2 separate regions of the Homo sapiens genome follow, and region 1 is linked to region 2. Evidence: promoter capture Hi-C in human tissues and cell types (Jung and others, 2019). All regions are on one chromosome and are shown on one strand. Each heading gives the region's core, a stretch centred on a gene start or on the middle of the fragment in contact. The rest is flanking DNA. Distances are from core to core; before and after follow the strand shown. Region 1 overlaps NEPRO-AS1 (NEPRO antisense RNA 1). Region 2 holds the start of BOC (BOC cell adhesion associated, oncogene regulated).

Region 1 (5,804 bases), core at 944-3,443, 50 kb after region 2:
TCCTCCTGTGGGCATGTCTGCTAGTGCATTTGAATCTTATGAGAAGTTTTCCAGACTGAACCTATGAATGCTTTAGACAAATCTTGTTCTTTAACCGTATGGAGAGTTGGGGGGGATGTCTCACTTCCTATGTGAGGAAGAAACTTGGGAAGATCTGCCGTTAGTTTGTCCCAGGTGGAAGAAAATGGTCATAGCAGGTCTCCTTTTAGGTTCTGTTAAGCAGAGGCCTGGTCTATGAGATGTTGAGAGGAAGAATTCAGAGATGAGGAAATAGAAGCAGTTTCCTGAATGTTCTATCAGCAGCCACTTACTGGTTCATATGGTACAACTCAAGTAGGGGCGAACACAGCCCCTACCTACAAGGTCACAGTTGTAGCCACCAGCATAGAGATGAGGAAGGCTTTGCTCAAGTGGCCTGAGATTTGCAGCGTTTGTTTATGTCTTTTGCCCAGAACTGCACAGTTGGTGGTTGAAAGGGCACAACTGTTTTCCCTGTAATTGGGAGCGTGGGGGGCACAGTCTGTTCACAGGTTAGGAGGTCAGTCCAGCACTGGAAAATCACACAAGGCATTAGAGTGGCTTCCAGGCCCTCTAATAATCTGATGAGCGTGTGATCTTCCAGTGGCCTCTCATCTCAGAATAAATTCCTAAATCCTTACTACGTTCTGCAAGACCCTATGTGACCTACATCGTGCATCTGCTTGCCCCAACCTCTGTGACCTTATCTCCTATGATGCCACCCTCACTCACTATTTCCAGCCACAGGGGTCTCCCTGTGGCACCTCACACACCCAGCACACTCCTGCCTCTGGCATTATTGTTATCTTAGCCTTGGAAGCGCTTCCCCTCAATGTTTGCACAACTCACTCCCTCACTTCATTCCAGTTCTGCTCAAATGTCACATCATTACCACCAAGTCATTCTTAGACCACCCTATCTAAAATAGCATCCTCCCTCCATCATTTAATTATCTAGCTAGCCTCTTCCCTGGCTTGATTAGCAATGATTGCCACTGTTACACACATATATATCTTGTTTATCATCTTATTATAAATGTAATACATCTTGTTTATCATCTGTCTCTCACACTAGAATATGGATACTCTGAGAGCAAGGACTTTGTCTTGTTCACTGCTATACCCCTGGCACCTTAACAGTATCTGGCACATAAGGTTCAGTGAACAGTGGTTAAACGAATGAATGGCCATTCTTTCCTTTCCTGCTGGCTGATTAACTTTACCTTTCAGTCTAAAACTTAGAGTAGGGATGTCCTGCTAAAGAAAGGTGGCCAGATGAAGTGGGAGCAAATAAGCCATTTCTCGTATGGCCCTTGGTCTCTTCTTGCGCTCAAGCCTCAAGTTGCCACCATGGTTTCAGGTAGAAACTGTCTTCAAACCATCTGAATCTTAACTCAGAGGACATCAGAGGGATCTATCTGTACAATTTCCCCTAGATATAAGTTACCCATTCAGACACAGCCTCCTGCTCAGCTTTCCTGAGTCTCCCAACTTCCAAAACCTTCCTCTATCCTTCAGCCCCCATTTCTAACTCTACATCAAGATTCTATGTCCGTGATACAGTCCATGACTTGACGTGATCTGTCCTCCTGGCACTCAAATTTATTCTGATCTCTGTGGCTACCCCTCAGTCTATTCTTCCGGACCTCTCGTATCTCCACCATCCACCTGCGTAGAGCCTAAGCCCTGAGAGATCTAATGATTGAGGATAATATCCTTAGAGTGACCTACCACATATTCCCATATCTCCACCATCCACCTGCCTAGAACCTAAGCCCAGAGAGATCTAATGATTGAGGATAATATCCTTAGAGTGGCTTACCACATGTGATTCCATGTTAGTAGAGCTTCTGAGCCACTCCTCTCAGTTTAGAATTTTGTGTAGGCAGAACATTGTCTCAAGATGCCCTAAAAAGTAAAATCAAAGGACAAATCTTTAAAGCCTGAGTGGTGCTCCTTGGCAGAAAGCCGAGATGCTCTGTAACAATGTGTGGGTTCATAAGTGGCCAGCTTTTCTGCTCTTCTGATGCTGTAAGAACACCAGAGGCTGTCGCTTCTGAAAACTTAGAAGCTGACATCATCAGAATTGCTGTTCCTGACTGGTGGGTTCTTTCTGATCTCTAGGACGGCAGCTTTTCCCACGTCAGGTAGTTGCCTGGGACACTGGCCTCATCTGAAGGAGGACTCTGGGCCCCATGAGGCTGGGGGGCTAAGGCTGGGGAAGAGAGGAGGACAGAAGAGGCAGGATGGCTGTAACTAGTTATAATTGCCTCCCTACACACATGTCTAAGCTTGGTGCCCACTCAAACACTGCTCAGTCAAGGAGTATACATGTTGACTGAGTGACTCTCCCTCCCCTTTCTCACTGCACTACACTGGGAGATTTTTTTAAAAGCTATAATGAATTTTGCTATATCTCCCATGTCATAATTAGTACCTATGAGGGCAAACAATAACAATGACATGATGGAGACAGGCAGCACCTAGCTGTCTAGCAGAAGACACAATGCTATGCTATGCAGAGGTGAAAAAATTAAAATATTCATGCACACATGTCATTAAAGCATTTTAGCATTCTCGTTTCACATACACCTGACCTGTGGCACTTTGGGCATGTTCATTTGCCTACTGCAGACAAATAGCTGGGGTGTATAGCAGAATAAGGCCAAGTGCTCTTGCATGGTGACACAACTGGGAAGGAAAAGGATTTGAATCCAGATTCTTACTGCCACACACCTCCCTCTCCCCACAACATCAGCATTGATACCTGATCATTTGCTAACTTGCAATCATATAAGAAAAACAAATGTTGATTGACATTCAAGATAATGTATAATTAGAAGATATCAAAGAACATCTCTCCTATCAGAAGGTCTTTCTAAGTATAAAACAAAACCTAGAAATCAGAATGAAAAGATGAATAAATTTGACTAAATATAAAAGAAACATCTCTGCAAGGTAAAAATCCTTGGTGGCCTGTAATCTCAGCAGTTTGTGAGGTTGAGGCAGGAGGATAGCTTGAGCCCAGGAGTTCAAGACTAGCCTGGCCAACATAGGAAGACACTATCTCTAAAAAATAAATAAATAAATAAGAAAGAAAGAAGAAAAGAAGAAAAAAGAATAGCTAGATGTGGTGTCATGTGCCTGTAGTCCCAGTTACTGGGAGGCTAAGGAGGGAGAATTGCTTGAGCCCAGGAGTTTGAGGCTGCAGTGAGCTATGATTATGCCACTGCACTCCAGCCTGGATGACAGAAGACCTTGTTTCTAAAAAAGAAAAAAAAAAAAAAATCCAGAGTAAAAGACACATGATACACTGATACACTAGGGAAAAAAATGTGAATCATGGCATCTTGTATCACAGACAAATGATTAATTTTCCTAATAAATAAAAAACTGAAAAATATCGATTTAAAGAGCCCTACCAACCCAATAGAAGAAAGAATAAATATTAATAAAGATTTAACAGAAAAGAATATACTAATAACTATGAAATGTGTGAAAGATGAACAGTCTCATTCACAACAAAATAAACTAATTAAAAATATATTGACAAACCATTTTTCACCGATTAAATTGGCAAAGTCAAAAAGCTTGACAAACTGTGTTGGTGAAGGCTTAGGGAAATAGGCACCCCCATATACTGTAAGTGGGACTGTAAAATAGTATATGTTAAGAAAGAAAATATAGCAAAATTTATTATAATTACAAATGAACAAAGCATTTGGCTCTCTTCTAGGGATTTATCTTAAAATACACTCTCATCTGTTAAATGATGCATGAATGATGAAATTCATTGCAGTGTTATTTTAAATAATAAAAGACTGGCAACAACTTAAGTGTCCATCAATAGGTGACTAGTTAAATTATGATACATTTATACAAGAAAACATTTTTCAGCTTAAAACAGAATGAGAATTCTTTTTATGTACTGACAGAAAGATTTTAAAAATATATTAAGTGAAAAAAAGCAAAGTACAAAATAGTGCATAGAGTATGCCATCTTTTGCAGGACAAAGTGGGGAAATAGTGATATGCATTTACTTGTATATATAAAATAGCTCTGCAAGGATACACAAAAAACTAGCAGTGTTAGTTGTCTTGAGCAAAAGAGTGGCTGAGAGACAGATGTGAAGGAGCTATTTTTACCTATTTTCTTTCAAACTTTCTAAGTTTTAAACAGGTCAATGTATTACTTCAAAAAAAATAGGCAACTTATTTTTGTCTTTGAGAAGTATCAATCTAATCATCAACCTCAAAAACTAAAATCTTGAATAAAGATGTCAACGAATTCGTGCAGCAAATAAGCTTTAACAAATTTTAAATTCCCAATTCATGGTTGAATAAGGGAGAAAGAGACGGAGTGTGAGAAAATGGGAGCATTAGATACCATCGAGGATACTAGAGACGGATGATGAGGCAGAAGATAAACAGGGCAAGCAGGACAGACACAGAGGGAGAGAGTAACAGAAAACAAGGGAGACAGGCAAAGACAAGAGTTGTTGAAGTAGGTGCTACTGTTGGGTTAAAATGCTGCTACTGCACTCTGGCATTCAACTCAGGGTGTGCTTCAGACCAGACTGTCCCTTGTTACTACTACTCTTGGAGATTGAGTTTATTTTTCCACGGATTTCTTGGGGTTTCTCTGTGTATAAGGAATTGACAAGGGTTTGAGAAATTTACTTAGGAAACATGGAGGTCCTCTGACCCCACCAGCGAAAATAAACAAGCGTAAAGTGGTACTTACAGGAGAATAAAATAACTGCGGCTCTAGGATTTGGCAGATTATATCAGTAATATGAATTGTGAATATTCAGTGGGTTAATGGGATTTGCCACATATGCGCGTGTCGTAAGGTGTGAGGATGTACTGAGATAAATTCCATAGAATTTACCCCAGTGTATTTTCTTCCTTGTTAATATTCATAATTATTTTGTTTCCATAACACTTTAAACAAAAACCGCACTGTAATGGGTTGCTTATCTTCTTGCATTCAGTTGATTGTAAACTTTTTGAGGGTAGGGGGTTATATCTTCATCTTTGCATTCCCAAATCTAGCACAGTGCCTGGCACAGTATAGGTAATTATTGTTAAATTATTGCTAAATCTGAATTCAGATTGCTATCAGAGGGTTATGCTTAACTACATGCAACAAAGACCAAGCAACAGTAGCTTAAACAAGATATGTATCATGTAATAAAAAGTAGAGATACCAGTTCAGAGGTGTGCAGTGTTTGCTGGGACCCATCAAGGATCTAGATTGCTTTCATATTTTGGCTTGCCAGACTAGCATTCAGTGTCCCTTCTCATGCTCCAAAGATGGCGGCTATTCTGGCCACAATCCAATCAGGAAGAGAAGTTAAGGGCAAAGAGCAAAGGCCAAAGCCCTGTGGGTTTTCTACAATAAATCCTGTCTTAGCGAATTTTGCTTACCTCTCATTGGCCAGAAGTGGATCATGTGACCACTCTACTGTGCAAAGGCATCTGGGAAGCGGATGTTTTAACTGGGTGTATTGCTACAGCCTATAATAAAATTGAGGATGTCTTAGGAGATGGGGATAATGAAATAATGAATAGCAGTATCAGTCCCAAGTGTGTAAAGGCAAAAACCACAAACACATTTTCAACTCTTTCTGTCATTTGCCGTATTTTTCCTCTTGTCTTTTAGATTCTTGATGATAATATTCTATTCTCTTGCAAATCCCAGCAGATTCAATTTAGCTATAGACCATCAGAGGCCATGGATTACTTTATTCCTACTGCCCCCACATCCTCTCCCCTGAGCCCCTG
Region 2 (5,151 bases), core at 2,146-4,645:
GATTGTGGATAATTTAAAAAACATTTTCTTAATTACAAGTAGATGCTTGTACAATAAATAAAAACTGAGGAGGAACCATCATTTGACTAATAAAGCTTACTTTCCTGGGACAAGGAAGCTTTCAGCCTGGTGCCTGATGCACTAAAAATGTTTGCTGAATTGAAGTATGGAGATGACAAGAAGTTACATATGTTAGAGTAAATAGATTTTTCTAAATGGAACATATTATTTTCTTTCCTCTCCCTCTCAAATTTCGATTCTTTTCTCCTGTCCCATATTTTCCCAGACAGCAAGAGGGCTTAGAGTTTGGAGGAAAGAAAGCAACTTCCAAATATATAATATCTTTTGGTGCCAAGTTAATATTTTCTTATTCAGAGGCCACAAGGTATTGGATAGCAATTATTTGGTGCACCTGAGTTTTCTGTTGTAGTTTGAAAGACACAGAGATAAACCCTAATTCATTACCCACATCAGTGGCTTTGCCGAAATTTGAACCCAGACCCCCTAGGGGACACGGAACACTATGACACATCAGGCTCACTTCTTGCTCTCCTTTTTCAAACCGTGGGGGGTCCATGTGAAAGTCAACTGAATTATTTCATGGGTAAAATCTCTTATTCATTCTTAGGGCATGGAAACCATGTTGTTGAAGAGAGCCGGGATCCCAAACACTTGAAAAAGCACTTCAAAAAAAGGGAAAATCTCTGGACCCATTTGGAGGGTGGAAAGGAACATAAATCACACAGCTTACCAAGAGTTGGCTCACCAATTAACAGCTAAGCAGAGTCCTCTCTATTTTTTCCCCACACCCTCCCTCTCCAGTTGTAGTCAAAGAATCAACCATTCTGGCTTCTAGCAACCTCTTTTCCCAAGTAAAGCCAGTGGCCTATGGCGTGGGGGACAACTGCTCCCTAGCGAATGTCTCTTGCAGTGAAGCATTTCTGAAGTATCTCGATAGAGGATAAAAGAGACAGTGTCTGAGGTCTCAATCCTCAGGCTTCATAAATGTGTAGACACCCTCCAGCCTCCTCAAGGCCCAAATTCTGAGTGACAAATCTATACAGGGGAGGACAGTGTCAGCAAAGTGGCCCAATGAGGCAACTCTTCTTTCTTTCATTTTACCTCTTTGCATAAACTCATTTGAAAAACTCATAGCAGGAAAATAATAACTCTACTGCTGTTTCTGCCCGGCCTCTGTCCCACTGACCCCAAGGTGCTTTCAGATCACCACGAGAAGCTTCTGGGTCTCAATTATGAGACCATTAAAAAGTACCAATTATAAGACCTCAGAAATGTTTCTGGGAAACCTGTTACACACCTCAAAATGGCTAACCTCTTGCCTCAGATTTACTTTAAGTTCAGAAAACAGGTCACCCAGATGTATGGGCATCCTAGCCCCCACAAGCAGCCCAAGACTGTGGTTTAATATTTTCCATGCTGCCCTTAAGAAAACGAAGATTGATTTATTGGCTGTAACCAAAGGGATGAAAAAAACCATCACAGAGCTGGGCTGCCTGTTTAAGACCCAGTCGTGGAATAAATCAGAAATGTCTGCACACTGAAGTTTTAAAATGACATTCATCCAATGGTCAATGTGTACCGAGTTCTGGACAACAAAGAACTAGGTGACAAATGTGTGCTGGGCACAGTGCATCTGCAGGTGGCACAAGGGCCTGAAATCAAAATATAATCTTCACTCAGTCCACTCAAAGAGGTAACTCTGGGTCAAAAACTTAGGCGAACCCATTTGAACTTGCAGAGAAGGGATGAGGGGAGCAGCAGAACACCCCACCACACCCAAAAAGTGCCAGTTTGGGATTGCTGGTGTGTGGTTTCGGTATTCTTAGCTCTACTGCCACATCTCTGGAGGAGCACAACTCTGTTCCAAGCAACTCTGGCACTGCCACCCCCATCCCCAAAACAAAACTCTGCCAAACAAATCCCCGAGGCTCCATTAACTCCTTCAGGTCTGCCTGCCTCTCTCATCCCTCAGCATTCTCCCATCACCTGGAAAAGCAAATTAATACTGAACATCCTGAAAGTCAAGCAGGCCCTTCAACACCCCCATGAAAATTCTTCCTGGGTTCCCTGCCCTCCCCACAGCCCCGTCCCACTGGTTCCAGAGATTCATTTCCCACACCTTCTCACAGTTACATCAACAAAAACCCCAGGAGGACGCTGCTGGCGCGAACACGCACACACGCGCGCGCACACACGTACACGCACACACGAACTCTCTCTCTCACACACACACACACCTCTTTCACCTTTGCCCCAGCCCCTCAGACACCTCGGGCCACTCGGCTTCAGCCTCGCCCCTCTGCGCCAACAGCTAGGGATGCTTCCCTCAAGCTGCGTCGCTCCCGGTCCGCTGAGTTCCTCATTTTAGTGTTTTTCCTTTAGAAGACGCCAACTATGAGAAACCCTCACCCTCCAAAGAGGCCGAGTGCGTGTTGAGTGACTCTACGCATTTGCCGCCACGCCTCGGGTTCCCCCCACGGCCTGGAGCATGGGGCCGGGGCGCTGGTGTCAACCTTCGGTGGAAGTTTGGGAGGCTGGCTGGATCCTTCTTCCACCCGAGAAGCTTCTGGGAACCGCTGAGGCGAAACCACCATCGCCCGGCCAGACCGCTGCGGCAGGGAACGAGATGCGGCGCCCCTGGGCCCCGTAGCGGCTGCAGCCCCCGGGACCCCCGCTGCCCGCCTCGCCCCAACTTCTTCGCCCGGCGCCCGGCGCGCCCAGCCTCGGCCGCAGCTCCCAGCCCCGGGCGCCCGGCCGAGCGCTGGGACCCGGCTCCCGCCGCCGGCACGTCCCCCGGCAGCCACTCGCTGGCGCTGCCTCGGCCTGCGGCCGCCTCCCGCCCCCTCCTCTCCCCGAACCAACAGTAAACACAACTTTTTATGAAAAGAAAACAAACTTCAGCGACGTGACTCACCTCTGCTGCAGCCGGCGCCTGGGAAGGGCGAGCCGGGGCCCGGGGGCCAGCGTGGTGGGCGCGAGGGAGCCACACAGCGCCGCGCCGCACGGACACACAACACGCTCGGTGACACCGGGGACACACAACACGGGCGAGCGGCCGCGGCTGGAGCAACAAAGGAGCCGAGGACCGAGAAGTTGCGGGCCGGAGAGGGAGGGCGCGTGCGGGCGTGTTGTGGCTGTGGCGGGCGTGAGGGTGTGCGCGCCGTGTGTGCGCGTGTGTGTCTTTTCTGTGTGTGTTTGTGTGTCTCTGTGTGTGTGTCTGTGCGCGCGCGCGGCGGCTGACACCGGCGGGCCGGGGCTCAGGGTCCCCGCGGCAGAAAGCGGCGGCCGCGGGGGCGGCAGCAGGAGGACAACGCAGGGGACGCCGCGCCCAGCGCACCCGGTCCCTCCATATGGAAGAAGCTTTTTGGATGACTGAACTCGCAAACAATTCCTTCTTTTGCTTCTCCTGCCTAGGAGCCTCCCATTACCGTGCGAGGAGGAGGAGGAGGAGGGAGTGGAGGAGGCTGGGAGGAGGGGGAGGAGCAAAATGGAGCAAAGAAAAAGTCTTGGAAAGGAAGCTGGAAAAAGTCCCCCAAACTCTAGGGCAGTTTTCCCGTTAACACCCACTTTTTGCTGTGCCTCAGACCCGCGCTCTCCTCCAACTTCTTTTGCTTTCCCATACCAAAAGCACCATCTTCTCCCTTTTCCCCGAACCCAGGGGGCTCCCCTGAAGCCTTCACTTTCTCTTTAGCTTCACCTCGCACCCTTGCTCTTCCATGTACAATCCTTCCCTCCTTTCGCCTAGTCTCTTCCAAGACTTTCCTGACACCCACCTCTCAATGGTCTTCTTCTTCTGCAAGACAAACTGTTGGATAAATCATTAAAAGCAAACTCATCAGAAAATGGGACAGCGGCGGTGGAGAAAATGATAAGGAAACCAATCTCAGGGAAGCCTTAACGCAGCCTCCCCCGACCCCCTCGGTCGGTTGGGGAGGGTTTGCCGCGTCGTCCATTGACAGCGCCCTGACCTCCATTCATCATCCCAGGATGGAGCCAGGGAGGAATGGGGAGGGAGAGCTGGGGCTGGGGTTGGGGGCATGGGTTGGGGGTGCTAGTGGCCACGGAAAAGTTAGTTACCTATGCGTGTGTATGTGTACGCGCACGCGCGCGTGTGTGTTGGTCAGAAAACTTTCAGAGCTGTGGTTCTCAAACTTGATCTGCAGCAGGACTCCCTGGAAGGCTTGCTAAATCCCTTTGCTGGGCCCCACCTCCAGAGTTTCTGATTCAGTAGGTGGACCTGGGAATTTGCATTTCAAATAGGTTCCCAGGTGATGCTGATGCTGCAGGTCAGGGGCCACGTTTTAAAAACTACCTTTCCAGGGCAGTGAGAAGGCAAATGTTGAGTTGGTGGCAAATTGGATTCCCTTCTTATTTTTTAGGAATGAAGCACAGGTTGTGAGCGGTCATCCATTCCGTATCTTCATTGCAGCTGAGAAAACCAAGTCCCAGCAGGGCTAAGCCATTTGTTTAAAGTGAACTGGGAGTTTGTGCCAAGCTGGTGAGGAAGCTGTCCTGGAAATAAGACAGCCAGGCTAGTAGTAGGGTGAATGGGGGTGCTGCCTTCCCTGTGTGGCTGGACAGCTGCACTGGGAGTCAGGAAGCCACTGTGACTTTGGAAAGTCACTTAACTTTTCTGGGCCTCTGGGGGTTTTGTGTGTGTGTGTGTGTGTGTGTGTGTGTGTGTGTGTGTGTGTGTGTGTGTTTGTTTGTTTGTTTGTTTTTTGACAGAGTCTCACTCTGTCGCCCAGGCTAGAGTGTAGTGGTGCAATCTCGGCTCACTGCAAAGTCTGCCTCCTGAATTCGAGAGATTCTCCAGTGTCAGCCTCCCAAGCAGCTGGGATTACAAGCACCTGCCACCATGCGCGGCTAATTTTTGTATTTTTAGTAGAGACGGAGTTTCACCATGTTGTCCAGGCTGGTCTTGAACACCTAGCCTCAAGTGATCTGCCCACCTTGGCCTCCCAAAGTGCTAAAATTACAGGCGTGAGCCACCTCACCCGGCCCTGTTTTGTTTTTTATTAACTTGTTTCTTGTCAGTAAACATACATACTTTACACTGAGTATAGGACTCTAATTGAATCTGAACCAAAAGACCTTTACAAAGGAAACATAAATGTATTTTATTCCATA

Evidence for each region. Contacts are between HindIII fragments. The study calls those that stand out against the background at their distance.
Region 1: a fragment that was not itself captured here is called in contact with the fragment with the promoter of BOC in region 2 in 1 of the 25 tissues and cell types used here (mesenchymal stem cells).

What each region holds. Positions count from the first base shown.
Region 1 is chr3:113,158,055-113,163,858 of GRCh38, reverse strand. It overlaps NEPRO-AS1 (NEPRO antisense RNA 1), which reads right to left. Exons shown (of 3, transcript NR_186663.1): 2 at 1,840-1,925. All of the region lies in intron 2 of LINC02044 (long intergenic non-protein coding RNA 2044), which reads left to right. Among named protein-coding and RNA genes, the nearest start is that of LINC02044, 6.8 kb to the left of the region's middle. The HindIII fragment of the contact is 3,545 bases long and covers 421-3,965 here.
Region 2 is chr3:113,209,801-113,214,951 of GRCh38, reverse strand. BOC (BOC cell adhesion associated, oncogene regulated) reads right to left here and starts at 3,395. Exons shown (of 20, transcript NM_001378074.1): 1 at 2,936-3,395. It overlaps LOC124909486, which reads left to right. Exons shown (of 2, transcript XM_047449436.1): 2 at 2,672-5,151. The coding sequence ends at 3,397. RefSeq lists an enhancer at 2,383-3,034. The HindIII fragment of the contact is 6,739 bases long and covers 2,984-5,151 here.